Linked DNA regions of Homo sapiens: regions 2, 3, 4, 5, 6 and 7 are each linked to region 1. Evidence: promoter capture Hi-C in 16 types of primary human blood cells and fetal thymus (Javierre and others, 2016). All regions are on one chromosome and are shown on one strand. The core of a region is centred on a gene start or on the middle of the fragment in contact, and the rest is flanking DNA. Distances in the headings are between cores, read along the strand shown. Region 1 holds the start of UNC119B (unc-119 lipid binding chaperone B). Region 2 overlaps P2RX4 (purinergic receptor P2X 4). Region 3 overlaps LOC105370030 (a long non-coding RNA gene). Region 4 has its middle 37 kb from the start of P2RX7. Region 5 overlaps LOC105378258 (a long non-coding RNA gene). Region 6 overlaps OASL (2'-5'-oligoadenylate synthetase like). Region 7 holds the start of COX6A1 (cytochrome c oxidase subunit 6A1).

The links. The method cuts DNA at HindIII sites, captures the fragments that hold promoters and counts their contacts. A CHiCAGO score of 5 or more calls a contact.
Region 2: a fragment that was not itself captured here is called in contact with the fragment with the promoter of UNC119B in region 1 in 1 of 17 cell types (naive B cells); the score reaches 5.6 in naive B cells.
Region 3: a contact is called between a fragment that was not itself captured here and the fragment with the promoter of UNC119B in region 1, in 3 of 17 cell types (endothelial precursors, M1 macrophages and naive B cells). The highest score is 7.1, in endothelial precursors.
Region 4: a contact is called between a fragment that was not itself captured here and the fragment with the promoter of UNC119B in region 1, in 6 of 17 cell types (naive B cells, total B cells, total CD8 T cells and 3 more). The highest score is 10.4, in naive B cells.
Region 5: a contact is called between a fragment that was not itself captured here and the fragment with the promoter of UNC119B in region 1, in 3 of 17 cell types (naive B cells, M1 macrophages and megakaryocytes). The highest score is 7.4, in naive B cells.
Region 6: a contact is called between a fragment that was not itself captured here and the fragment with the promoter of UNC119B in region 1, in 9 of 17 cell types (endothelial precursors, M1 macrophages, naive B cells and 6 more). The highest score is 8.3, in endothelial precursors.
Region 7: the fragment with the promoter of COX6A1 here is called in contact with the fragment with the promoter of UNC119B in region 1 in 5 of 17 cell types (total CD8 T cells, naive CD4 T cells, naive CD8 T cells and 2 more); the score reaches 7.5 in total CD8 T cells.

Annotation. Positions count from the first base shown.
Region 1 is chr12:120,708,775-120,712,071 of GRCh38, forward strand. It overlaps UNC119B (unc-119 lipid binding chaperone B), which reads left to right and starts at 1,684. Exons shown (of 5, transcript NM_001080533.3): 1 at 1,684-1,944. The coding sequence starts at 1,701. LOC124903036 (a long non-coding RNA gene) reads right to left here and starts at 1,732. Exons shown (of 2, transcript XR_007063491.1): 1 at 1,663-1,732; 2 at 1,159-1,500. RefSeq lists silencers at 1,574-1,633, 1,724-1,993 and an enhancer at 1,601-2,443. The HindIII fragment of the contact is 2,396 bases long and covers 282-2,677 here.
Region 2 is chr12:121,216,499-121,219,795 of GRCh38, forward strand. P2RX4 (purinergic receptor P2X 4) reads left to right here. Exons shown (of 12, transcript NM_002560.3): 2 at 636-783. Among named protein-coding and RNA genes, the nearest start is that of P2RX4, 8.0 kb to the left of the region's middle. The HindIII fragment of the contact is 2,347 bases long and covers 569-2,915 here.
Region 3 is chr12:121,112,032-121,115,328 of GRCh38, forward strand. LOC105370030 (a long non-coding RNA gene) reads left to right here. Exons shown (of 3, transcript XR_007063494.1): 1 at 1-23. Among named protein-coding and RNA genes, the nearest start is that of P2RX7, 19 kb to the right of the region's middle. The HindIII fragment of the contact is 2,011 bases long and covers 752-2,762 here.
Region 4 is chr12:121,094,484-121,097,780 of GRCh38, forward strand. No RefSeq gene overlaps it. Among named protein-coding and RNA genes, the nearest start is that of P2RX7, 37 kb to the right of the region's middle. The HindIII fragment of the contact is 3,941 bases long and covers 1-3,297 here.
Region 5 is chr12:121,066,108-121,069,404 of GRCh38, forward strand. It overlaps LOC105378258 (a long non-coding RNA gene), which reads right to left. Exons shown (of 4, transcript XR_007063492.1): 3 at 3,230-3,297. Among named protein-coding and RNA genes, the nearest start is that of OASL, 29 kb to the left of the region's middle. The HindIII fragment of the contact is 178 bases long and covers 1,681-1,858 here.
Region 6 is chr12:121,016,723-121,020,019 of GRCh38, forward strand. OASL (2'-5'-oligoadenylate synthetase like) reads right to left here. Exons shown (of 6, transcript NM_003733.4): 6 at 2,389-3,297. Among named protein-coding and RNA genes, the nearest start is that of C12orf43, 1.9 kb to the left of the region's middle. The HindIII fragment of the contact is 612 bases long and covers 1,161-1,772 here.
Region 7 is chr12:120,436,863-120,440,159 of GRCh38, forward strand. It overlaps COX6A1 (cytochrome c oxidase subunit 6A1), which reads left to right and starts at 1,251. Exons shown (of 3, transcript NM_004373.4): 1 at 1,251-1,367; 2 at 1,517-1,659. The coding sequence starts at 1,265. It also overlaps the pseudogene LOC124903126. RefSeq lists enhancers at 1,288-1,497, 1,424-1,945. The HindIII fragment of the contact is 8,043 bases long and covers 90-3,297 here.

The DNA of each region.
Region 1 (3,297 bases), core at 434-2,933:
AAGGCCTGGCAAGAACGTCAAGAGGCTCTGGGGGACGGTTGCAATTTTACTCTAGCCTGGCTGAGAGGTGATGTCAGACCTAGCAGACACACTGCATCAATCAGGCCCAGGCCTCCAACACAGAACAGTGCAGATCTAGAATCCCTAGAGAAGGAGCCCCTCAGGGTGGAAGACGGTAGACCACATCCCCCTGTTGACCCACTTCTGGCTAATTGGTGAGGTCATGGCTAACTTCCAAAGCTCAGTGCAGATATTGCCTCTGAAAACTTCCGAAGCCCTCAAGCTTTTACAGCCAGGTCAGAATAAACCACTCCTGTGTGTTCTCCTAGCACCTTTGCTGCATCTCTTAGTGCAGTCAGTGAATCTAGTTTGTCTTCCAGTTCATACTAACCTACCTTGTGAAAAGGAAGGGTCACATAATGAATTGTGTACTTTACAGTCTTCTCTAACAAAAGTGGGAGCTCTTCCATAGTGGGATACTGTTCAGGCTCTCATTCAATCATTACTGAGCACCTACCACGTGTCAGGCATTAGCTGAACTGCTGGGAATTCAGGGGTGAGGCAGACCCAATCCCTGCCCTCACTCTTACATCTCCTGTAGCCTAGCCCAATGTCTAGCCCAGGGCCTGGCACAGTAGGGCTTACGGATGGCAATCTCATTGGAAAGTTTGTCTTGAAACTGCCTTTGCAAAACAAACACTGCTTTAACTTACCTTCTATGCTAAATATATTAATAAACATTTTCTCAAGATGCATTGTCCACTAATAGCTTAGTGTTGAAGAACAGGCCTTGGGTCAGATGGACCTGGATTAAAATCCCTGTTCCCTCCTCTTACTGCTTGAGGGACTTTGGACATGTTACCTGACTTCTCTGAACTTGAGCTTCCTGATCTGTAAAATGGAGACAGTAATACCTCACAGGGTTGTTGTGAGGTGAGGAGCCTGCCCTATAGCAAGTGTCCTGCCATATAGCAAGTGCGCAGTAAACACTGGCCATTCTTCTTCTTGGTGTGATTACTGGGAATTAGTTGCCATTGTGCTGTTGGGACTGGTGACAGAACTCTTGGATTGAGAATGCCGAGATGGTGCACGGAAGATTCTGTGTGCTCTTTCAGACCAGGAGGAGGATGAGGAGGAGGAAAGTTTATATGACGTAAATTCATTTGACCGTAAGATATGTATTTAAACATCGTGGAGGATCTTGGGGGTCTGATGGGGAGTGGGGTTGCTGAAGCTCCAGCCACCCCTAGGCCCTCCACCTGGCAGGACCAAAGTTGGGGCAGTAGCCGAAGCACCGCCCCCCGGGCCCCGCAGGAGTGTGCAGTCACCCAGTTAGGCCTATCTTGGCCTGCCCATCACTCCTGGCCTGCGGTCTCCTAACCCTGTGGCAGCAGCAGCATTCCCTGAATGGATCGAAGGCTGCCATGGTGTCGTCCGCTGAATTGCTATAGGAGTCAGCCCAGGGCTGCTCATGTGCACCTCAGGTTGCTGATGGCAGCTCTAGTTATTTGGGGATGGAAGTTTGGGGAGAGTGGGCCTTGGTCCACCCTGTGCGAAAGGGAATTCCACAGCCCCCCGGGCGCCCGCCCCCGCCCCCGCCCCGCCCCCTCCCCGCCCCTTCCCCGCCGGGCCCCGGGCCCCGCCCCCGCTCTCCATAGTTACCGCGCTGTGGAGGCGGCGGCCATCTTGGCGGCGGAGCGATGAGCGGGTCTAACCCGAAGGCTGCGGCCGCGGCGTCGGCGGCTGGGCCCGGGGGGCTGGTGGCTGGCAAGGAGGAGAAGAAGAAGGCGGGCGGCGGCGTCCTGAACCGCCTGAAGGCGCGGCGGCAGGCGCCCCACCACGCGGCCGACGACGGCGTCGGGGCAGCGGTCACGGAGCAGGAGCTGCTGGCGCTGGACACCATCCGGCCCGAGCACGTCCTGCGCCTCAGCCGGGTCACCGAGAGTGAGTGCCGCGCGGGCCGCGCCCTCCCCTCGCGCCGTGCCCCGGCTCCCGGAGCCTTCAGCGGACCCGGCCACTTGACCAGCGCGGGGGTCCCCGCCAGACCCCCTCGGCCGGCCGGGCCGCGCTTCCCGCTGCCCCGCCGGCCGGGCTTTGCTCCCGCCACGCTCACGTAGCTCTGGTGGGGAAGGACTCTCCTGGGCTGGACCGCATTCCTGTGAGTCCGGCCACGCTAGGATGCCCTTCGGCCGGTCGGCTCCCCAGCTCTGCCGGACCTGTTTGGGTAGAGGGCCCCGTTCAGCTGAACTGGATCCTCCTGAGCCGGCCGGGGGCCGAGGTCCCCTAATAAATGGGCCCCTGGGCCCTCAGCCTGGAACCCCCGGCCATCAGTGAAGTTCCCGCTCAGCCAGGCTCCCCCAGCCCTCTGGCAGGCCAGAAGCCTTACCTGCTTCCTCCGCCCTGGCCCCATGGCAGCCCTCCCCCATTGCAGCCTGCCCGGCCTCCCTCCCTCTTTGGGTCGGGAGCGTTGCCCCTTAGTGTGCAGATGGGTTCTTCCTCAAAACACATAGCCGTGGCATTTCCTGCTCATTTAAAACTGTGCCACATTAAAACAAAAATAAAGTTTCAGTTTGTGTACAGACTCCGACATGTGAATCCTGCTTTTGACATTCTCGTGAATTAAGAATGATTTCAGAGTTTCAGAAATGCGTTTCCTGCACAAAAGGCAACCATCCTAAGCTTTTTCGTTGATAGGAGGATGGGTGGGAAGAAAAATGTTGCCCAGTCCCTGCCCTGGGTGATCTCCCTTTTTCTGTTCTCTGCCAAGCCAGTCCCTGACTTGACGTCTTTTCTCTTGCTGCTGTTTTCCCTGCAGGAGTGTGCACTCACCTAGTTAGGCCTATCTTGGCCTGCCCATCACTCCTGGCGTGCAGTCTCCTAACCCTGTGGCAGCAGCAACATTCCCTGGATGGATCGAAGGCTGCCATGGTGTCTGCTGAGCTGCTATAGCAGGCAGCCCAGGGCTGTTCAGGTGCACCTCAGGTTGCCGATTGCAGCTCTAGTAATTTGGGGATGGAAATTTGGGGGGAGTAGGCCTTGGTCCACCCTGTGCGAAAGGGAATTCCCATTTCCTAAAAGAGTTTTAATTTGATTCTAGATATTTGGATGCCCCCGTTTCCCAATACTGTTTGGGTTGAGACTGTCCTTACCAGACCTGAACGTATCTTTAGACATTCTTGTTAGTTTTATTGAAACAGTGTGAAAAAGCTTCTTTTCTTCTGAACCAGTTTTCATTTGGGGCTCTGAAAGTACAGATGCTCAGCACCTGGTCTTGGTAACCTCATGCCCTCTCCTGCC
Region 2 (3,297 bases), core at 492-2,991, 510 kb after region 1:
GGTGATTCCCATAGGTCACAGGCATTGAAAGTGCTCAAAGGGCCAGGTGCAGTGGCTCACGCCTGTAATCCCAGCACTTTGGGAGGTCGAGGTGGGTGGATCACCTGAGGTCAGGAGTTCGAGACCAGCCTGGCCAACATGGTGAAACCCCGTCTCTACTAAAAATACAAAATTAGCCAGGCGTGTTGGCGCATGCCTGTAATCCCAGCTACTTGGGAAGCTGAGGCAGGAGAATTGCCTGAACCCGGGAGGCGGAGGTTGCAGTGAGCCAAGATCACACCATTGCACTCCAGCTTAGGCAACAAGAGCGAAACATCGTCTCAAAAAAAAAAAAAGAGAAAATGCTCAAATGTAATAAAGACAGTATTCATCGAGCGTTTTCTCTGTGCCATCAGTGTGCTGAGTGCTTTACCTGCACCATCTCATTTATTTCCCGCAAACCCTCCTGTGGTTTAGGTGCTACCATCCCCATTTGGCAGAAGTGGAAATGGAGTCCCCTAGAAGGTACGTAGCTTGTAGAAAGTCATGTAATTAGTCAACATCGTACTTCCAGCCACTGGCCAGCAGAAGCTTCCCCATCAATTCAAATCCATTGAATCCTAATGGCAATTTAAGAGGCCTGTTTTATTTTATAGGTGGGTGTTTGTGTGGGAAAAGGGCTACCAGGAAACTGACTCCGTGGTCAGCTCCGTTACGACCAAGGTCAAGGGCGTGGCTGTGACCAACACTTCTAAACTTGGATTCCGGATCTGGGATGTGGCGGATTATGTGATACCAGCTCAGGTGTGTCTCCCACTGTGTCTTCTGTCTAACACTGACACCTTGCTCTTTACTGACTTTGCACACTTGATTAATGATTGACGTGGCCTGAGTCCTGACATCACCAATGCCCAGAATGATTGTTTTAGTCCAAGAAAACGGTGCAGCCAGATCTCTTTTCAGCTTAGGATCTAACAGAGTGTATCCAGGCAGCTGTGGTTCCTCAGCTTGAAAGCATGGCAGGCTGAAAGCCCTGAAAGATGAGAAAACAAATGTCTTAAATCCTGATAGAAATTCAAGTGGAAATATCACCTTTCCACATTTTGGGTTTGCATTATTGTCCCAAATACACGAGGTAAATCTTTTCAGACAGTGTAAAAACTTTAGGCCGGGCACAGTAGCTCACGTGTGTAATCCCAGCACTTTGGGAGGCTGGGGCGGGCAGATACCTTGAGCCCAGGAGTTTGAGACCAGCCTGGGCAATGTGGTGAAACCCCATCTCTATAAAAAAAAAAAAAAAGAAAAAAAAAGAAAAGAATTAGAGACCATTAGAGACCAAAACCCAAACAAGAAGGAAACAGAGACAGCAGCACAGGACTCCATCGGGAGCGAAAGGAAGGGAAGACATTGTTTACTGCTGCATACTAGTCTTCAGGCTGTTAATCTGCAAAGCTCCAAGTTAAACATTGACTCTTTAGTCCTGGTAACAGCTCTGCACCACACAGTCAAACCCGACATAGCCCTCCAGATGGCCTATGTGCTAAGGGACCGAGGGCGACCAGTAGAGATAAGCTGCCAACTCTTGGCTCAGAGCTCTTGCCAGGGAAAACAAGAACTCCAGAAACTCTTTCTTCAGGTGTGTTCTTCCCCCTGCCTTCTCAAGAGAAGGGTCTTGTGGGGTCCCCAGAGAGGAGACCGAGCTAATGAGCCATAAAAGTCAGGAGGAAGGGCCAGGTGCGGTGGCTCATGCCTGTAATCCCAGCACTTTGGGAGGCCGAGGTCGGTGTATCATGAGGTCAAGAGATTGAGACCATCCTGGCTAACATGGTGAAACCCTGTCTACTAAAAATACAAAAATTAGTGGGGTGTGGTGGTGGGTGCCTGTAGTCCCAGCTACTAGGGAGGCTGAGGCAGGAGAATCTCTTGAACCTGGGAGGCGGAGGTTGTAGTGAGCCGAGATAGTGCCACTGCACTCCAGCCTGGTGACAGAGCAAGACTCCGTCTCAAAAAAAAAGATCAAGTGGAACAGGGGATTTGCAGTTGGCTGGAGGGGGCAGTCCTGTTAGCATGTACCTGTCTCAGCAGAGAGACGGTTGCCTCCTGTGCAGGCATAGCCTTGTCCCGGTGAGCTCTGGGAATGTCATGCTCGGTGTGTTTACTGGGCAGATGAGGAAGGGCACAAGCCCCGCTTTTGTCCCTTGGTGGAAAGGAGCACCCCACAACTCAGCCTTCCGTGGTGGATCTGGGCGGGGGCCGTGTGAGTTCCCCAGGGCTTTCCTCATGAGCTTTCACGACGTCTGTGTTCTTTGTAGATGGAACACAGTCATCTATTTGCAGCCCCTTGGCTCATCTCCAGACTGAAATTACCCTTAATTTGAAGTAGATAAGTGATAGGAAACAGGCCAGATGTGGTGGTTCATGCCTGTAATCTCAACACTTTTGGAGGCCGAGGCAGAAGGATCACTTGAGCCCAGGAGTTTGAGGCTGAAGTGAACTGTGATCACGCCACTGCACTCCAGCTAGGGCAACAGAGCAAGACCCCAACTCTAAAAGAGAGAGAAAGAAGGAGAGATAGGAAACGAAAAGTAGACCATACTGGATTGTTCCAAGTATAACTCAGGAGAGTCGTAGGAGCGGCCTTCTCTAACACCAAATGCAGAGTGTGTTTGTACATTGAACACCTGGGAACGTGACAGGTGGCGGGAGAGAGGCTGCAGCTCATGCCACATCCTCACGCCTCCTCCTGTGGCCTTCTCCTTGTCTCCCAACATAGTTTGCCCTAGGCCTTTGGAGGACGCCAGCTATTTCTAGAGCTTCCACCACTTGTCAGACCGTGGGGTTGGGGATGTCTACAGACTGGTTGGTTTCTGAGTTGCCCTGATCCCCAAGATGGCTCCCACTACTGACTGTTATCCTCAGGAGTGTGAAATGCTAAAAGCTTTGGGCATCTCCTTTTAAAATGCCTGGGCCCAGCCAGGCGCAGTGGCTTACGCCTGTAGTCCCAGCACTTTTGGAGGCCAAGGCAGGAGGATCACTTGAGCTCAGGATTCAAGACCAGCCTGGGCAATATAGTGAGACCCCATCTTGATTGGATGGGTGGTGGATGGATGGATGGATGGATGGATGGATGGATGGATGGATAGATAGATAGATAGATAGATAGATAGATAGATAGATAGATGGAAAGAAAGAAAGAATAGATAAATGATAGGATAGGAGAAAGAAAGGGAAAGAAAGAAAAGAGAAGAGAAAAGAAAGAAAAGGGATAGGATAGATGACAGATGATAGGATAGATTAGATAGGTGATAGATAATCGAT
Region 3 (3,297 bases), core at 507-3,006, 400 kb after region 1:
CTCAGCACTTTGGGTAGGCCAAGGTGGGTGGATCACGAGGTCGGGAGATCGTAGACCATCCTGGCTAACATGGTGAAACCCAGTTTCTACTAAAAATACAAAAAATTAGCTGGGCATGGTGGCAGGCACCTGTAGTCCCAGCTACTCAGGAAGCTGAGGCAGGAGAATGGCGTGAACCCGGAAGGCGGAGCTTGCAGTGAGCCGAGATCGCGCCACTGCACTCCAGCCTGGGCAACAGTGTGAGACTCCATCTTAAAAAAAAAAAAAAAAAAAAAGTCATCATCTTAGGGAGGTCTTTTCTGATCACCCTATTTAAAAGTTCAGGCTGGGCGTCATGGCTCACACCTGTAATCCTAGCACTTTGAGAGGCTGAGGCAGGAGAATCACTTGAACCTGGGAGGCGGAGGTTGCAGTGAGCCGAGATTGCGCCACTGCACTCCAGCCTGGGCGACAGAATGAGACTCTGTCTCAAAAAACATAAAAAAATAAAAATAAATAAAAATAAGTTAGCTCCATGCTTTTAACTCAGTAACAAAAAGACAAATGACCAACGTCAAAAGTGAGCAAAGGACTATCTAAGAAGATATATATACACGGCCAATGGGCACATGAAAAGATGCTCACCACGTAATGATATGTATTAGGGAAACACAGATCAAAACCACAGGACACACGACTTCCTATCACTAGGATGACTGTTATTTTAAAAATGGAAAATAACAAGTATTGGTGAGGAGATGAAGAAATTGGAAGCTTTGTATATTACTGATAGGAGTGTAAAATGGTGCTGCTGCTGTGGGAAACTGGCCATTCCTAAAAAAGTTAAACATAGAATTACCATATACCCAGCAGTTCCACTTTTAGGTTTTTACCCCAAAGAATTGAAAATGGGGACTCAAGCAGATACCATTTTTATTTTTATTTTTTATTTTTAGTAGAGATGGGGTTTCACCGTGTTGGCCAGGCTGGTCTCGAACTCCTGATCTCGAGTGATCCACCCGCCTCGGCCTCCCAAAGTGCTAGGACTGCTGGCGTGAGCCACCATGCCTGGCCTCAAACAGATACTTGTAACCTAAATGTTCACAACAGCACTATTCACAGTAGCCAAAGATGGAGACAACCCAGATGTCCCTAAACAGACGAATGGATTAACAAAATGTGGTCTATCCATGTGATTCAATTTTACTCAGCCATAAAAAAGAATGAAAGGCACATGCTACCACATGAATGAACCTTGAAAACAAGGTGAGATTCTTGTGAAAGGAGCTAGTCACAAAAGGCCACATAGTGTATGATGCCATTTATGTGAAATATCCAAAAACAGACAAACCCACACAGAGAAAGAAAAGCAACGGTTACCAGGGGCTGGAGGAGGAGGAATGGCCAAATGGGTACGGGGTTTCCTTTTGGGGTGATGAGAATGTTCTGGAACTAGACAGAAATAGTGGTTACATAACACTGTGAATGAACTAAATGCCACTCAATTGTTCACTTAAAAAAAAACAGAGATGGAGTCTTGTCGTGTTGCCTAGGTTGGTCTCTAACTCCTGGGATCAAGCAATCCTCCCGCCTCAGCCTCCCAAAGTGCTGGGATCACAGGCCTGAGCCACCGCGCTGGCCAATTGTTCACTTTTAAATGATTAATTTCATGTTATTTGAATTTCACCTCAATGGAAAAACTCAGCCCCAAACATGCCTTATCTTCCCTCCCTACCTGATTTTTCTCCTAATGCACAGGGCCCCTCACACATGGTATGTCCGGCCTATGTGTCCATTGTTCATCCTGCTTCTTTAAAATATAAATTCCAACAGGGTAAGGATTTCATCTGTTTTGTTAACTCACATATGCCCAAAGAGTCTCTGGTACTCAATAAATATTTGTTGAATAAATGAATTAGATAGGGTGTGGTGATGGAGAGAGTCCCGCCGCCATCCCTGCCCCCATCTCTAATTCTAACGTTCTAACCCGGCTCTTGACCTTGGAGCCGGTTAACGATGATCCTGTCTGGGCTCATTTTCCCTCCTTTTCCTGAAGAGCAGCATCCACAGGCCCTCACTCAGCTCACTCCCTTTTAACCCTTGTCTGCTGAGAGTTTGAGATAAAGGGGGCCACGAGAGAAGACAATGAATCCATTACAATGTGTGATGAGCTGTCTGCTCTGTGGCTTCCCACAGCAATTTATCATGACCTGGAACCACAGCTGTGAGGCCGGGTGTTCCCCCGCCAGGACCTCACTCCCCAGCTGCTTCAGAAGGGAACATTTACAGGAACCTGTCCATACCTATTTAATGAACAGCTGCTCGGATGCAGCCCTGTCCCAGGCACTCAGCCAAATGACAAATGAACTATATAATCATTCATTCATTCGATGATTCATCCATTCTGTGATTGATTGATTCATTCATTCATGTGGTTGTCAAACATTCATTGAGCACCTACTATGTGCCAGACACTGTACCTTGCACTGTGGCCCTTAATATCAGAGATGTCAATGTATGATAGACCAGGATTCCTCAGCCTAGGCACTGGGGACACTTTTGTTTTTTGTTGTTGTTGTTGCTGTTTTTGAGACAGGGTTTCACTCTGTGGCCCAGGCTGGAGTACAGTGGCACAATCACAGCTCACTGCAGCCTCAACCTCCTGGGCTGAAGCAATCCTCCCACCTCAGCCTCTTAAGTAGCTGCGATTACAGGCACACGCCACCATGCCTGGCTAATTTTTTTGTATTTTTTGTAGAGATAGGGTCTCCCTGTATTGCTTAAGCTTGTCTTGAACTCCTGAGCTCAAGCTATCCTCCTGTCTCAGCCTCCTAAAGTGCTGGGATTACAGGTGTGAGCCACCATGCCTGGCTACTGTGCACATTGGAACCAGGTATTTCTTTGTCACAGGGGTTGTCCTATAGATTAGCAGCACCCCTGGCTGCAGATGCCAGTAGCACTCCCTCAGTCGTGACAACTAAGATGTCTCCAGACATTGCCAAACGTCCCTGGGGCACACAGTCATCCCTAGTTGAGAACCACTGGTCTAGACAAGTATATTTTCCTCAAATTATCAGAGAAAAAAATGCTTTTATTTTTGCTGTTTCCTCCTTCTCTCCCTCTCTCTCTCCCCCTACTTACCTACCTACCTGGCTAGTTAAATTGGAAAGCAAAAGCATAATTACAGCTAACATTTGTAAATAGCACATAGTAAGGGGTCATTTTATCTTGGTTATTCTCGCAACAACTATATGGGCAAAATGCCACCAATGTTCACTTTACAGATGAAGAAATCAAGGCCCAGAGATGCTAAGCAAG
Region 4 (3,297 bases), core at 482-2,981, 390 kb after region 1:
TGTTAGAATGGCTATTATCCAAAAGAGGAAAGATAACAACTGTTATTGAGGATGTGGGGGAAAGGGATCACTGTACACTGTTAGTAAAAATGTAAACTTGTACAGCCATTATGGAAAATAACATCCATCCACAGATGAATGGGTGAGGGAAACGTGTCTACGCAATGGAATATTATTCAGCTCCAAAAAAGAAGGAAATCCTGCCATTTCCAACAGCCTGGATGAACCTGCTATGCTAAGTGAGATAAGTAAGCACAGAAAGACTAATACTGCATGATCTCAGCCTGGTACAGTGGCTCACGCCTGTAATCCCAACACTTCAGGAGGCTGAGGCAGGTGGATCACCTGAGGTCAGGAGTTTGAGACCAGCATGGCCAACATGGTGAAACTCCATCTCTATTAAAGATACAAAAATAGATTGTGGTGGTGCACGCCTGTAGTCCCAGCTACTCGGGAGGCTGAGGCAGAATCGCTTGAACCCAGGAGGCAGAGGTCGCAGTGAGCCAAGATGGCACCACTGCACTCCAGCCTGGGCGACAGAGCGAGACTCCACATCAAGAAAAATAAATAAATAAATAAATAAATAAATACTGCATGATCTCACTTATATGTGGAATCTAAACTAACCAAACTCATAGAAGCAGAGAGTAGAGTAGAATAGTCGTTGCCAGGGACTGAGGGTTGGAGAAAACGGGGTGTTGTTTAATGGGTATAAAGTGTCAGTTATACAAGATGAGTAAGTTCTGGAGATGTAACGTACAGCGTGTAACAACACTCTGTTGTATACCTGAAATTTCTTAAGAGAGTAGATCTTAAGATCCTTAACCACCCCACCTCCAAAAAAGAAAGAAAGTGGTAACAATGTAAGATGGTGGGTGTTTTAGTTTGCGGTGATCATTTCACAATGTGTATTAAATATCCGGTTGCCCACTTTAAATATATACAATGTTTACTTTTCAAGCATATTCAGATAAAGCTGGGGGAAAACAAACAGCTTTCTGGGGCCATTGTTTGCAGACCCCTGAGTTAGGGCATTGTGTGATGGCTGGGTCAATTTCACTTCAGCATGGTAAGAGGCACGTGACAAAAACTGGCATGAAAGGGGCTGTTGGAACCAAGGGGCAGGAAAGGGCTGCCCTATAGGATCCGCCAGAAGACAGACCGGCATTTCACGAAGTGAGCAAATTCCGGAGGAAATAAAGGATTTCCGTTTTAAGGGGTTGGGAGGCAAGAGAAAAGGCTGAGAGGGTGTGTGTGTCTGAAATGGGGTCTCTGGGTGAGAAAACGTGTGAGATAAAGTGCGAGGCTGGAAAAACGCGCACGTGTGCAGGAGGCGGGGATCTGCTGCACCGAGTGTGCACATTTGCACGAACCGTGGGGGCGTCTGCGGCTGTGGGTGGAGAGGAAATCCTGGATCACACATCTGAGAGAGGGGGTGTGGGTGGGAGTGGGAGAGTATGTAAGAGCGTGGGTCGTGACAGGTGAGGGACTTGTGTGTGCAACTGTGCGTCCTGCGAGAGTGAGGAGGTCTCGGACTGAGGAACTGCGTTCAGTGCTCAGTGGTGAGTTCCCACGCAAGAGCCTGGGGAGTCAACCAGAAAGACCCGCACGCGGGGCGGGCCCAGCGACCTCGGGCGCCATCTGCTGATTACCAGACGCCACTACCTGAGAAAGGCCCCTCCAGTCTCCTCATTGCCCAGCTGCGGACCCTAAGCTGAGCCATAACCGTCCTACCAACCCACGTCAGCAGAAGAGCCCAGTGGGAGGGCGTGTGTTCACTTCTGCTCCTCTGGGCAAAGACGCCCAGGTCAGAAACACCCACCCGACCCTCCCACTACCCAGAGACAGCCCCACCTGCACAGCTCAGAGCAGGACCACTGACCCTCTGGCTCTCCGGTCATATTTGCTATTGAAGACCAGAATAAAGTATTTTTATCAGGATTGAATACATGACTCATGAATGAATAAATTCATTCTCCTTACATATCGGTTCCTATTGAGAAATATGGTGGCTAGAATTTATTTCCTCCGGAAAGAGGAATAAATGTGGAGCCCCTGGGTTTGGTGCTATTTATTACCCATTTCTCTGATGTTGTAAGAAAAGAGAGATTCAGAAGAAATATCACATTTCAGCCCCGAACTTACGTAGCTTGCTGCCGTTCTAGGTGATTTACTTAGATTGGCTTCTGCATTTTGACAAATGAGGAAATTGGGAGAATTAAAGCCTCTGGTTTTAAAGCCTGCTGCTGGGTCAAGTAGAACTGTGACTTTTATTTTTTTTTTTTTAGACAGAGTCTTGCTCTGTTGCCCAGGCTGGAGTGCAGTGGCACAATCTCAGCTCACTGCAACCTCCACCTCCCGGGCTCCCTCAGCGATTCTCCTGCCTCAGCCTCCCAAGCAGCTGGAACTACAGATGCCCACCACCACGCACGGCTAATTTTTGCATTTTTAGTAGAGGTGGAGTTTCACCGTGTTGGCCAGGCTGGTCTCAAACTCCTGACCTCAAATGACCCACCCACCTCAGCCTTCCGAAGTGCTGGGATTACAGGTGTGAGCCACCGTGCCCGGCCCAGAACTATGACATTTTGTTTTTGTTTTTCTCTGTTTCTTTGAAAAGAAATGGAGTGAAGGTGCAGAGATATGAGATAAATTATTTAAACACATTATTATTATTGTTGTTATTATTATTATTATTATTATTATTATTATTGAGTCGGAATTTCACTCTTGTTGCCCAGGCTCGAGTGCAATGGCATGATCTCAGCTCACTGCAACCTCCACCTCATGGGTTCAAGTTATTCTCTTGCCTCAGCCTCCCAAGTAGCTGGGATTACAGGCATGCGCCACCACGTCGGGGTATTTTTTTTTTTTTTTTTTTTTTTTAGTAGAGATGGGTTTCTCCATGTTGGTCAGGCTGGTCTCGAACTCCTGACCTCAGATGATCCACCCACCTCGGCCTCCCAAAGTGCTGGGATTACAGGCGTGAGCCACCGCACCCTGCCTTAAACACGTTATTAAATCAGTAAAATGAAGGGCCTGACAAATAAATGACCACTGAGCTAGGATGTAGAAGACCAAGGCCTGGAAGAAGGGGAGTCTGCCTCTTCTGTCACTGGTGAGCTACGACCTTCCCTGCAGGCACACCCTACGCTGTCCTTCAGGCTGGCTCTCCATGCCCTCGGGGGCCTCGGTCCAAACATCTGGACAAAGGCCCTATGAAAGGACCTCTAACAAAATATTTTCCACCATATTCAGCTAGAGTTGCATGTTTTTCTATTTTTCCTAATGAGAACATAG
Region 5 (3,297 bases), core at 520-3,019, 360 kb after region 1:
CTGGGACTACAGGCACCCATCACCTCGCCCAGCTAATTTTTGTATTTTTAGTAGAGACTGTTTCACCATGTTGGCCAGGCTGGTCTCGAACTCCTGACTTCAAGTGATCAGCCCACCTTGGCCTCCCAAAGCGCTGAGATTACAGGCCTGAGCCACTGTGCCCGGCTTCTTTCAAAGTTTTTATCTTTGATTTTACAAAATTTGAATATGATATGATGAGATATTGACTTCTTTGTATTTATCCTGTTTGGTGTTCTGAGATTCCTGGATCTATGGCTTGGTGTCTGTCAATAATTTTGGTGAGTTATCAGCCATTATTAGTTAAAATATTTCTTCTGCTTCTTTCATTTTTCTCCTTTTAGAATTCCCTTTACGAAGATGTTATACCTTTTGTAATTGTCCCGCCATTTTTTGATATTTTTTTCTGTTTTCCTCAGTCTTTTTTTCTCTTGCTTTTCAGTTTGGGAAGTTCTATTGACATTTTCTCAGGTTCACGGATTTCTTCATCAACCACGTGCAGTCCACTGACGGGTCCATCAAAGGCCTTCTCCGTTTCTGTTACGGCATTTTTTATTTCTAGCATTCCCTTTTGATTCTTAGAGTTTTCACTTCTCTACTTACATCCCATTGGTTCTTGAATCTCATCCACTTTTTCCATTAGAGCCTTTAGCATATTAATCATAGTTATCAGTCTGATAATCATCAAATCTCTGTATATTGCAGTCTGGCTCTGATGCATGCTCTGTCTCTTCATACTGTGGTTTTTGCCCTTTAATATGCTTTGAACATTTTAGGATGAAGATGAGAGAGTTGTTATGTTTCAAAGAAAATAGGTACTGGTTGGGCGCGGTGGCTGACGCCTATAATCCCAGCACTTTGGGAGGCCGAGGTAGGTGGATCACCTGAGGTCAGGAGTTTGAGACCAGCCTGGCCGACACAGTGAAACCCCTTCTCTACTAAATATACAAAAAATTAGCTGGGCGTGGTGGCATGCACCTGTAATCTGAGCTACTTAGGAGGCTGAGGCAGGAGAATGGCTTGAACCCGGGAGATGGAGGTTGCAGTGAGCCGAAGTGGTGCCATTGCACTCCAGCCTGGGCAACAAGAGCCAAACTCCGTTTGGAAAAAAGAGTCTTCTCGTTATTTATCAGTTTGGGACAGGTGCTGAGGAGCGGCCAAGCACTGAAAGAATTTTACTGGCTGTCCCAAGTGGTGTCCCCGAGCTCTCAAAATCTACGAGCTGTCCGAAAGCATTTGGGCTTTCTAAGTGGGTTTCACATAATGACTATGATAAACCTGTGGTATTTATGCACTAATACCTGTGCTGGGCTATGTGCCCACTGACACCAGCATATATTGTGGATAGTGTGTAGGAACTCTATAGGCTCAGATAATTCCAGACGTGTCAATACATACAGATGATGGAACTCTTTTGCACAGTGACTGGTGGTCCCACAGCTGAGTGATGATGGTGCATCCGTTGCTCAGAGCCTCGGCGCTGGAGCCACATGCTTGGGTTCCCATCTTGGCTCTTTTACTTAGGAGCTCATAAACTTGATCACATTCATCTCTGTCTCTTTTTCTCCAACCGGTGAAAGGTGAGAGTAAGCCACGCCATACGTATGTGGTGACTTCTGAATTGTTCAATGTGTATAATGTTATCAGTGCAAATGCTCATGAAGCTTAATTATCAGTGAAATGCCTTGCTTTAGATTGCACGACTTAACAAGCTCAAAGATTCATGCAAGCCCGGGATTCCGAACTCCCAAGCCATTGTTCTTTCTATGACATCTTCCTGCTTGGTCTACAACCAACCACTTTATCCAAATTCATACTCAATTTTGAAATACTCAGATAAAGCTTTCAAAAATGCTGTCTGTGTCTGGCTGAGTGCACACTCAATGGCCACTCCACATAAAAGGGCACATTAGGAGGCCTGGCACGGTGGCTTATGCCTGTAATCCCAGCACTTTGGGATGCCAAGGCAGGTGGATCACCTGAGGTCAAGAGTTCGAGACCAGCCTGGTTAATATGGGGAAACCCTGTCACTACTAAAAATACAAAAAAAAATTTTTTAAAGGGCACTATGGTCCTCCAGAGTGGTCCAGTTGCTTGAGTCATGGTCAACAGATGAGCTGTGCGAATGAGATGAATACCAGTGTCCTGGGTGGAGCCGCTTATCTACTGACAAGTCTGCTGTGCTAAAAGTGGTGAAAAATATCATCTTGCCTTATTTATTCCTAGCAAATGTAAGTGCCTCTAACCTTAGATTGCTTCCGAGTCATGGAACCAACAGTATCTTAGCATCAACTCCGGGTGATGGGTTAGGGGAACAAGTCACACAATATATCAAAACAATATAAACAGTTTTTCAGAGCTGCAGCTCTATATGCAAACTTGTACAATTATCACCTTATTATTTTTAAATTTATCTTTATATATATATCCATATGACTTACTTGTTTCTTGGTGTGAATAAATCTGTATATTCTTGGTTAATAGTGTCTACCGATTCATTTCATGTCCCTATCTTTATTCAATATGGGCTACTCTTTGGATGAGAAAAAAATGATTGTACTTGAGTATATTTACCTTTGGAAAGGTAAGTAGGTTGGGTGATTGACTGTAGTTGATACCTCTATGATTCTGCATAAACTCATTTATAAAATAAACTCAAATCATAAAATAAATAATAAAAAATAAAAGTGGATCTTGTTTTACACACGAACACATAGACAATACACATTCTTATTATCTCTTTTTTAAAAAGTTGATTTATGGATATAAATGACATATCCCAAGTTTACTAAACTAAATAAACATTTCATCAAGAGGAAATACATATTAAAAGCAAAGATAGGTAAACTTGATTGCGTGAAAAGCCACAAAGACATCTGCATCTTTCTAGGTTTGCTCCAAATTTTTGAAATTAATTATTTTAGTAGCTACTTAATTAGGTAAAAAAACTGCATTACAACAAACTTTGCCATATTTTCCCCAGGAGTATACCTAATTGGGCAGTTTGAGGGGTACAGGATGTAATAGGAAATAGCACATGTTCTTTAAAGGAAAAATTCAAAGGGAACCTGCTTGACGCTAGAATCAAATATATAAATTAAGGAATAAAATAGATCCCCAAAACACATTTATAACCGCATACGAAAAATACAGAGGATAATTTTTAAATACATTTAAGAGGACAGCATTCAACAGGCCAGTGTGAACATACCTCTAATGCAGGAACTCAGGTTTCCCATAAGAAATACCAAAATCTGGCCGGCACGGTGCAGAGTGAGA
Region 6 (3,297 bases), core at 217-2,716, 310 kb after region 1:
AGGGGATGGGAATCTCCTAAGGAGTTAATGACAGACCCAGGATTAGTTCCCAGGTTTTGATTCCATGTCATTTATTCTAGTAATTTCCCAGTCCAGCTGGGCCTAAGAAACACCTTAGAGAGCTGGTTAAACTGCAGACTTTTGGGTCTCACAGAAAATACTAACAGAATCAGAATCTCTGATAGGTGGAATCCAGGAATCTGTATTTCCTTTAATAGCCTAGGGCCTTACTACTTAAGAGTGTAGTCCATGAGCCAGCAGCATTGGTAACACCTGGGAGCTCGTTAGAAATGCAGAATCCAGGCTGGGCACGGTGGCTCACGCCTGTAATCCCAACACTTTGGGGGGCTGAGGCAGGCAGATCACAAGGTCAGGAGTTCGAGACCAGCCTGGCCAACATAGTGAAACCCCATCTCTACTAAAAATACAAAAATTAGCTGGGCATGGTGGCACGCACCTGTAGTCCCAGCTACTCAGGAGGCTGAGGCAGGAAAATCACTTGAACCTGGGAGGTGGAGGTTGAGGTGAGCCAAGATCGTGCCACTGCACTCCAGCCTGGGCAACAGACTGAGACTCTGTCTCGAAAAAAAAAAAAGAGAAATGCAGAATCCTGTCCGGGCACGGTGGCTCACATCTGTAATCCCAACACTTTGTGAGGCCGAGGCGGGCAGATCATGAGGTCAGGAGTTCGAGACTAGCCTGACCAACATGGTGAAACCCCATCTCTACTAAAAATACAAAAATTAGCCAGGCAATACTGACTCCCAGGACCCATCCAAGACCAAAAAATTAGAATCTCTGTGGTTAAAATACCTCACAGTGAAGGATGAACAAAATCACTTTACTTTTGTGTGTGGAATGCTGTTTCATGTTTTATCTTTGAAGACAGGTATGTCAAAACTTTACTAAAATAAACTCTCTGGCCTTGAGCTTTTTCTATTTCAAAGAAGAGGAAGGTGACTGATATGGTCTGAATGTGTTCCTCCAAAATTCATATGTTAAAATTGACACCATAAAATAAATAACAGAGAGACTGACTCTCCAAAATAAAGCGTTTATTCCAGAATTGCAAGGAATTGCAATTTGAGATATGCATGCTATAGTGGACTATAGGCACATTAAAAGAGGTTGTGGCAACGAGAAAAGACAAAGTCCACATAAGCTTCTTTAAAACAAGTACCGTTGATCACAGGAGCCTGTTGCAGGAGTTGGCTTTAGCTTATTGTGGAGACACCCACTGTTAGGCAAATATTCTTATGCAAGTGGTTTATCTATAATACTGCGGATTTTAGGAACTTCTTGAGATAATTTTTGTGACAGGCATTTGTTAGGGTTTGACATAAGTGACTCCATTTTGATACTGATAATTTCCAAAAAGTCCTTACTCCCAAGGTGATGGTATTAGGAGGTGGGACCTCTGGGAAGTAATTAGTGAAAGGGTCTTGTGTTGGTTCGAACCCCAAGAGCGTGGCCAACAGACAACATGAGGCAGTGTGTGTGCAGGTGGGCTGAGGCTTAAAATGGCGTCAGCACCAAATGAGGACGGGGCAGGGGTTTTGTAGTCTCCTGTAAACAGGAAGTTTCTCAGTCTGTTGTAACCGCTACATTGTACCCGGATGACGTCTCTCTCGGTCTTCAGGGGGTAGGTGTCTTCTGGCCCGCTCTCTTCCCGCTTCTGCTATCTTGCTGACACATGCTGCTGGCGCGAGTGGCCTTGCGCCTTGGGACCGGGCCCAAGGAGGGAGGGGAGGGAGGGGTCATTCATTCTCTTAAGCTTTCAGGCCCCACGGAGAATCTTTCAATTACATAATGGGTCCTGAGCCCTCATGAACTGGATCAATGCCTTCATAAAAGAGACCCCAGAGGCCAGGCATGGTGGCTCACAACTGTAATCCCAGCACTGTGGGAGGCCAAGACAGGTGGATCACAAGGTCAGGAGTTCGAGACTAGCCTGGCCAAGATGGTGAAACCCCGTCTCTACTAAAAATAAAAAAAAAATTAGCTGGGCACAGTGGTAGGTGCCTGTAGTCCCAGCTACTCGGGAGGCTGAGGCAGGAGAATCGCTTGAACCTCGGAGGCAGAGGTTGCAGGGAGCTGAGATCATGCCAATGCACTCTAGCCTGGGTGACAGAGCGAGACTCCATCTCAAAAAAAAAAAAAAAAAAAAAAAGAAGCGATCCTAGAGACACCTTTGCCTCTTCTACCATGTGAAGACTTAGTGAGAAGCTGCCATCTGTGAATCAGGAAGAGGTCCTCACCAGACACCAAATCTGCCAGTGTCTTGACTTGGACTTCCCAGCCTCCAGAGCTGTAAGAAATAAATGGTTATTGTTCATGAGCCATCCAGTGTATGGTATTTTGTTTTAGCAGCCCAGATGGACTAAGACATTGCATTTTTCATTCTTTTTTTTATTTTAAACAAGAATTTTCCCACCACCTACAATGTGGGCTGTGCTGGGCATTATGAAGGACACAAAGATGGGGACTGGAACAGCCTGTCTACCTCCTGGAAAGGAGGCACTTTTTCTGTCCCTGAAGGCAAACAGAGGTGGGAGATACACAGATTATGATTGCTAAATTGACCAGAGGCTGTTGATAACCAATTGCAGTGTGCATTTTCTATGCTATGGTAGGAGAGTAGCCCACCAGAAAACTAGGCAAAACAGGGGGGCAAAAGGAAACTTTTTATTGCTTGGAGTAAACCTGATCACATGACGTCCTTTGATAATAAAGATGCTATTACTTTCCTACAGTTTCCTGACTATTATGTACTGTTTGTGTATGGGTTTTAGGAGTTGAGGTGATTTTTTTTTACACTGCATCATCCTCAATCTCCCATTCTTTGTCTCTTTTTGCCTCAGTTTCCCCAGTCCTCATTTCTTAGAGTTGAGAAGCTCAAATGATCAAGCAATAACCATTAGGACAGCATTAGGCCCTGTGGAAATAAACAGCCCCCAAATGAGAACTAACAAAGGCGATTTATTCCCAACTTGCTATAGCAAAGGAACCAGCCACCCATCTCTCGCTTTTGACAGAGATTTAAAGACAGGCAGGAAAATGGGAAGGCTTCAGGGATGCCGTGATTGAGGCTGTTGGTATGGGGAAGCTGGAAGTGCACTCACCAGAAGTGGGGCTAACCATGTGATTGGTCTGGGGAGCTTATTTGGGTTTCTTGGGTTGGTCATAAATAGGAAGCAGGATGGGAGTAGGGTGGGGAGTTAGAGATGCTGCCAGTTATCGCCCAAGTCCTGATGGTTTGGGGTTGATTGCTGCAGAAGGCTGTGGGTCCGAATTCTG
Region 7 (3,297 bases), core at 1-2,500, 270 kb before region 1:
GCTATACTGTGTGTTTACACATAGGTGTGTCTTTAGAGGAAAGGGTTCAAAGCTTTCATTAGATTCTTTTTTTTTCTAATAAAGAAAAAAGCTTTGTTGCCCAGGCTGGTCTCAAACTCTCAAGCTCAAGCAATCTGTCCGCCTCGGCCTCTCAAAGTGTTGGGATTACAGCCATGAGCCACCACGCTGGTCCTCATTACATTCTCAAAGGGGCCTATTGAAAAAAAAAAAAAAAAAAAAAAAAAAGGCCGGGCACAGTGGCTCACGCCTGTAATCCCAGCACTTTGGGAGGCCGAGGAAGGCGGATCACAAGGTCAGGAGATGGAGACCATCCTGGCCAATATGGTGAAACCCTGTCTCTACCAAAGTACAAAAAAAAAAATTAGCCAGGCATGGTGGTGCGTGCCTGTAATCCCAGCTATTCAGGAGGCTGAGGCAGTAGAACTGCTTGAACCTGGGATGCAGAGGTTGCAGTGAGCCAAGATTGCACCGCTGCACTCCAGCCTAAGCAACAAGAGTCAAACTCCGTCTCAAAAAAAAAAAAAAAAAAAAAAAAAAAAAAGATGAGACTGTTGAGTCAGGATTAGGATCCAGGTCTGCTGGCACCAATTTCAGTGCTCTTTATACTTTCTGTTGCTATTCATTCATTCATCCATTCATTCAGCAAATTTATATCAAGTATCTGGTATGTGCCAGGTATGATTCCAAATTACACCATTCCCAGATTATTCTGAGAATGCTGCAGTGCCAAACTCTTGGTATCACAGACTTTATATTCTAGTGGGGGAGACAGACAAAATAATAATATAACGACGAAGGTGCAATGTTATGTGCTATGAGAAAACGCAGTCGGAGGATGGCGAGGAAGGGGAACGGAATTTTAGATAGGGCGGTCTGGGATCAGAACCTCCAGATGCCCGTCCATGGACTCCAACGAAGGGAGCGATTCCAGGTACCAGGGCACCCTGCACAAACCTCTCTTGAGCTTCCGCCTCGCCCAGGTGGGGACGGTAGGGAGACCGGAGGGCACACGCATGCGCACGAAGGAAACGGTAAAGCCTGAAGGGAGGTGCAGAGCGCATGCTCTCTCTTGCCCGAGATGCCGAGGATTTTGACAAGGACTCCGTCGTCCCGGATGATAGTGCTCAGGTTAATGCCAGTGGGAGGGCGGCGCCCAATAGTAACTTCCTTTGGAGGTTGTAGTACCGCCCCCAGAGCCAATTTTCCACTTCCGCTTCCGGCGCTGCGGCAGTCCAGATCAAAAATGGCGGTAGTTGGTGTGTCCTCGGTTTCTCGGCTGCTGGGTCGGTCCCGCCCACAGCTGGGGCGGCCTATGTCGAGTGGCGCCCATGGCGAAGAGGGCTCAGGTACTGGGGCCGGGGTCGACGGGTCGAGCCTCAGCCCCACTCGGGCGAGACAGGGAGGGACTGTGACCTTGGCCCGAGGCCTTGCGGGAGGGAAAGTGAGACCCGGGCCCGCCCCATACCGGCGCTGAACGTTTGTGGCTTCTCCGCAGCTCGCATGTGGAAGACTCTCACCTTCTTCGTCGCGCTCCCCGGGGTGGCAGTCAGCATGCTGAATGTGTACCTGAAGTCGCACCACGGAGAGCACGAGAGACCCGAGTTCATCGCCTACCCCCATCTCCGCATCAGGACCAAGGTACGCCCTTGTACATCTCTTCAAGCGTCCGTTCTCTTTTCGTTATGTGTGCCTTAGTGCAAGTTCTTCATTCTCTGAAGGCATGGGTGCCAGGCGTGTACAGCTTGTTTATCCTCACAAACAGAAAATGTATTTTCTTCCATTTTGTGGATGGACAGCTGACACTTGGGATTACGTCTCAATTCTCTTCTTCAAGGTCATACAATAAGTGCTCTTCAGTTTCCCTTTTCTCCGATTCATCCTACCTCCTGCCTTCTGAGACAGTTCTTTTTTTTTTTTTTTTTTTTTTTTTTACTTCTGAGACAGTTCTGAAACAGGTGTCCGTTGTGTAAAGCCTGGAGGTTTGGGAAATCCAATTAGAGTGGCAAAGTCTGAAGGTGGTTCGCGTAAGCGAACCCAGCAGCTACATGGGAGGCTGAAGCAGGAGAATCCCTTGAACCTAGGAGGCGGAGTTTGCAGGGAGCTGAGATCGTGCCACTGCACTCCGGCCTGGGCAACAGAGCGAGACTCTGGTCTCAAAACAAAACAAAACAGCAACAACAAAACATGGGCATCTGGCAGCTACTAGTTGCATAATGAAGAGACTGACAGCTTTCTCTATTCCCCACCAATACCTTTTCTCGACTGTTTTATCATTGGTTGTTGATGTAGATATATTACAATGTTGTGTCCTCTGTTGTTTGCTGTATCTTTAACAAGGGCTTATTCTGATTCTTCAATACTGGCCATGCGCGGTGGCTCACGCCTGTAATCCCAGCACTTTGGGAGGCCAAGGTGGGTGGATCGCCGGAGGTCAGGAGTTCAAGACCAGCCTCGTCAACATGGCGAAACACTATCTCTACTAAAAGTACAAAAAGTAGCCGGGCGTGGTGGCGGGCGCCTGTAATCCCAGCTACTCGGGAGGCTGCGGTGGGAGAATCTAGGAGGTTGAACCCAGGAGGAGGAGGTTGCAGTGAGCCAAGATCCAGCCATTGCACTGCAGCCTGGGCAACAGGAGTGAAACTCCGTCTCAAAAAAAAATAGTAATAATATACTTGATCTTAGCCAAAAGGCCGAGAAGTGATGAAAAAAGTTATTATTATTATTATTATTATTACATCACCTAGCCCATATAGGACTGGCCTTGTAGAAACTTAACCTAGACTCTTGAATTTGTTGAGTCTTTGAGCGGCACTCCCATCCTTGTACAATGCAATTAGAAGCCAAACAGTAAAGGTTTCTCAGCCTCAGCACTGTTGACATTTGGGGCTGGGTAATTCTTGTTGGGGGGCTATCTTGTGCATTGTGAAATGTTTAGCCATATCCTTGGCCTGTACCCACTAGGTGGCAGTAGTACCTGCGCAACCCCACTCCCGCTTCCCCCTCCCCCGCCCCCATCACAGTGTCTCCCGATACTACCCAGTGTGCCCTGAAGGGGCAAAATCACCCTGGGTTGGAGACCGTTGCCCTAAAGTAATGCTTTTCAAAGGTAATAGGCAAGATAATTCAGGGTGGGCTGCAGTTTCCCAGCCCAGATATTGTTTGAAGTCTGGGATGGTGCCAGAAATCTGCATTTAATTAAGCATCTCCCTCCCCTAATACTGCCACCATTTTGATATAGGTGATTTGAGGATTACACTTTCATAAACACAGCACTGG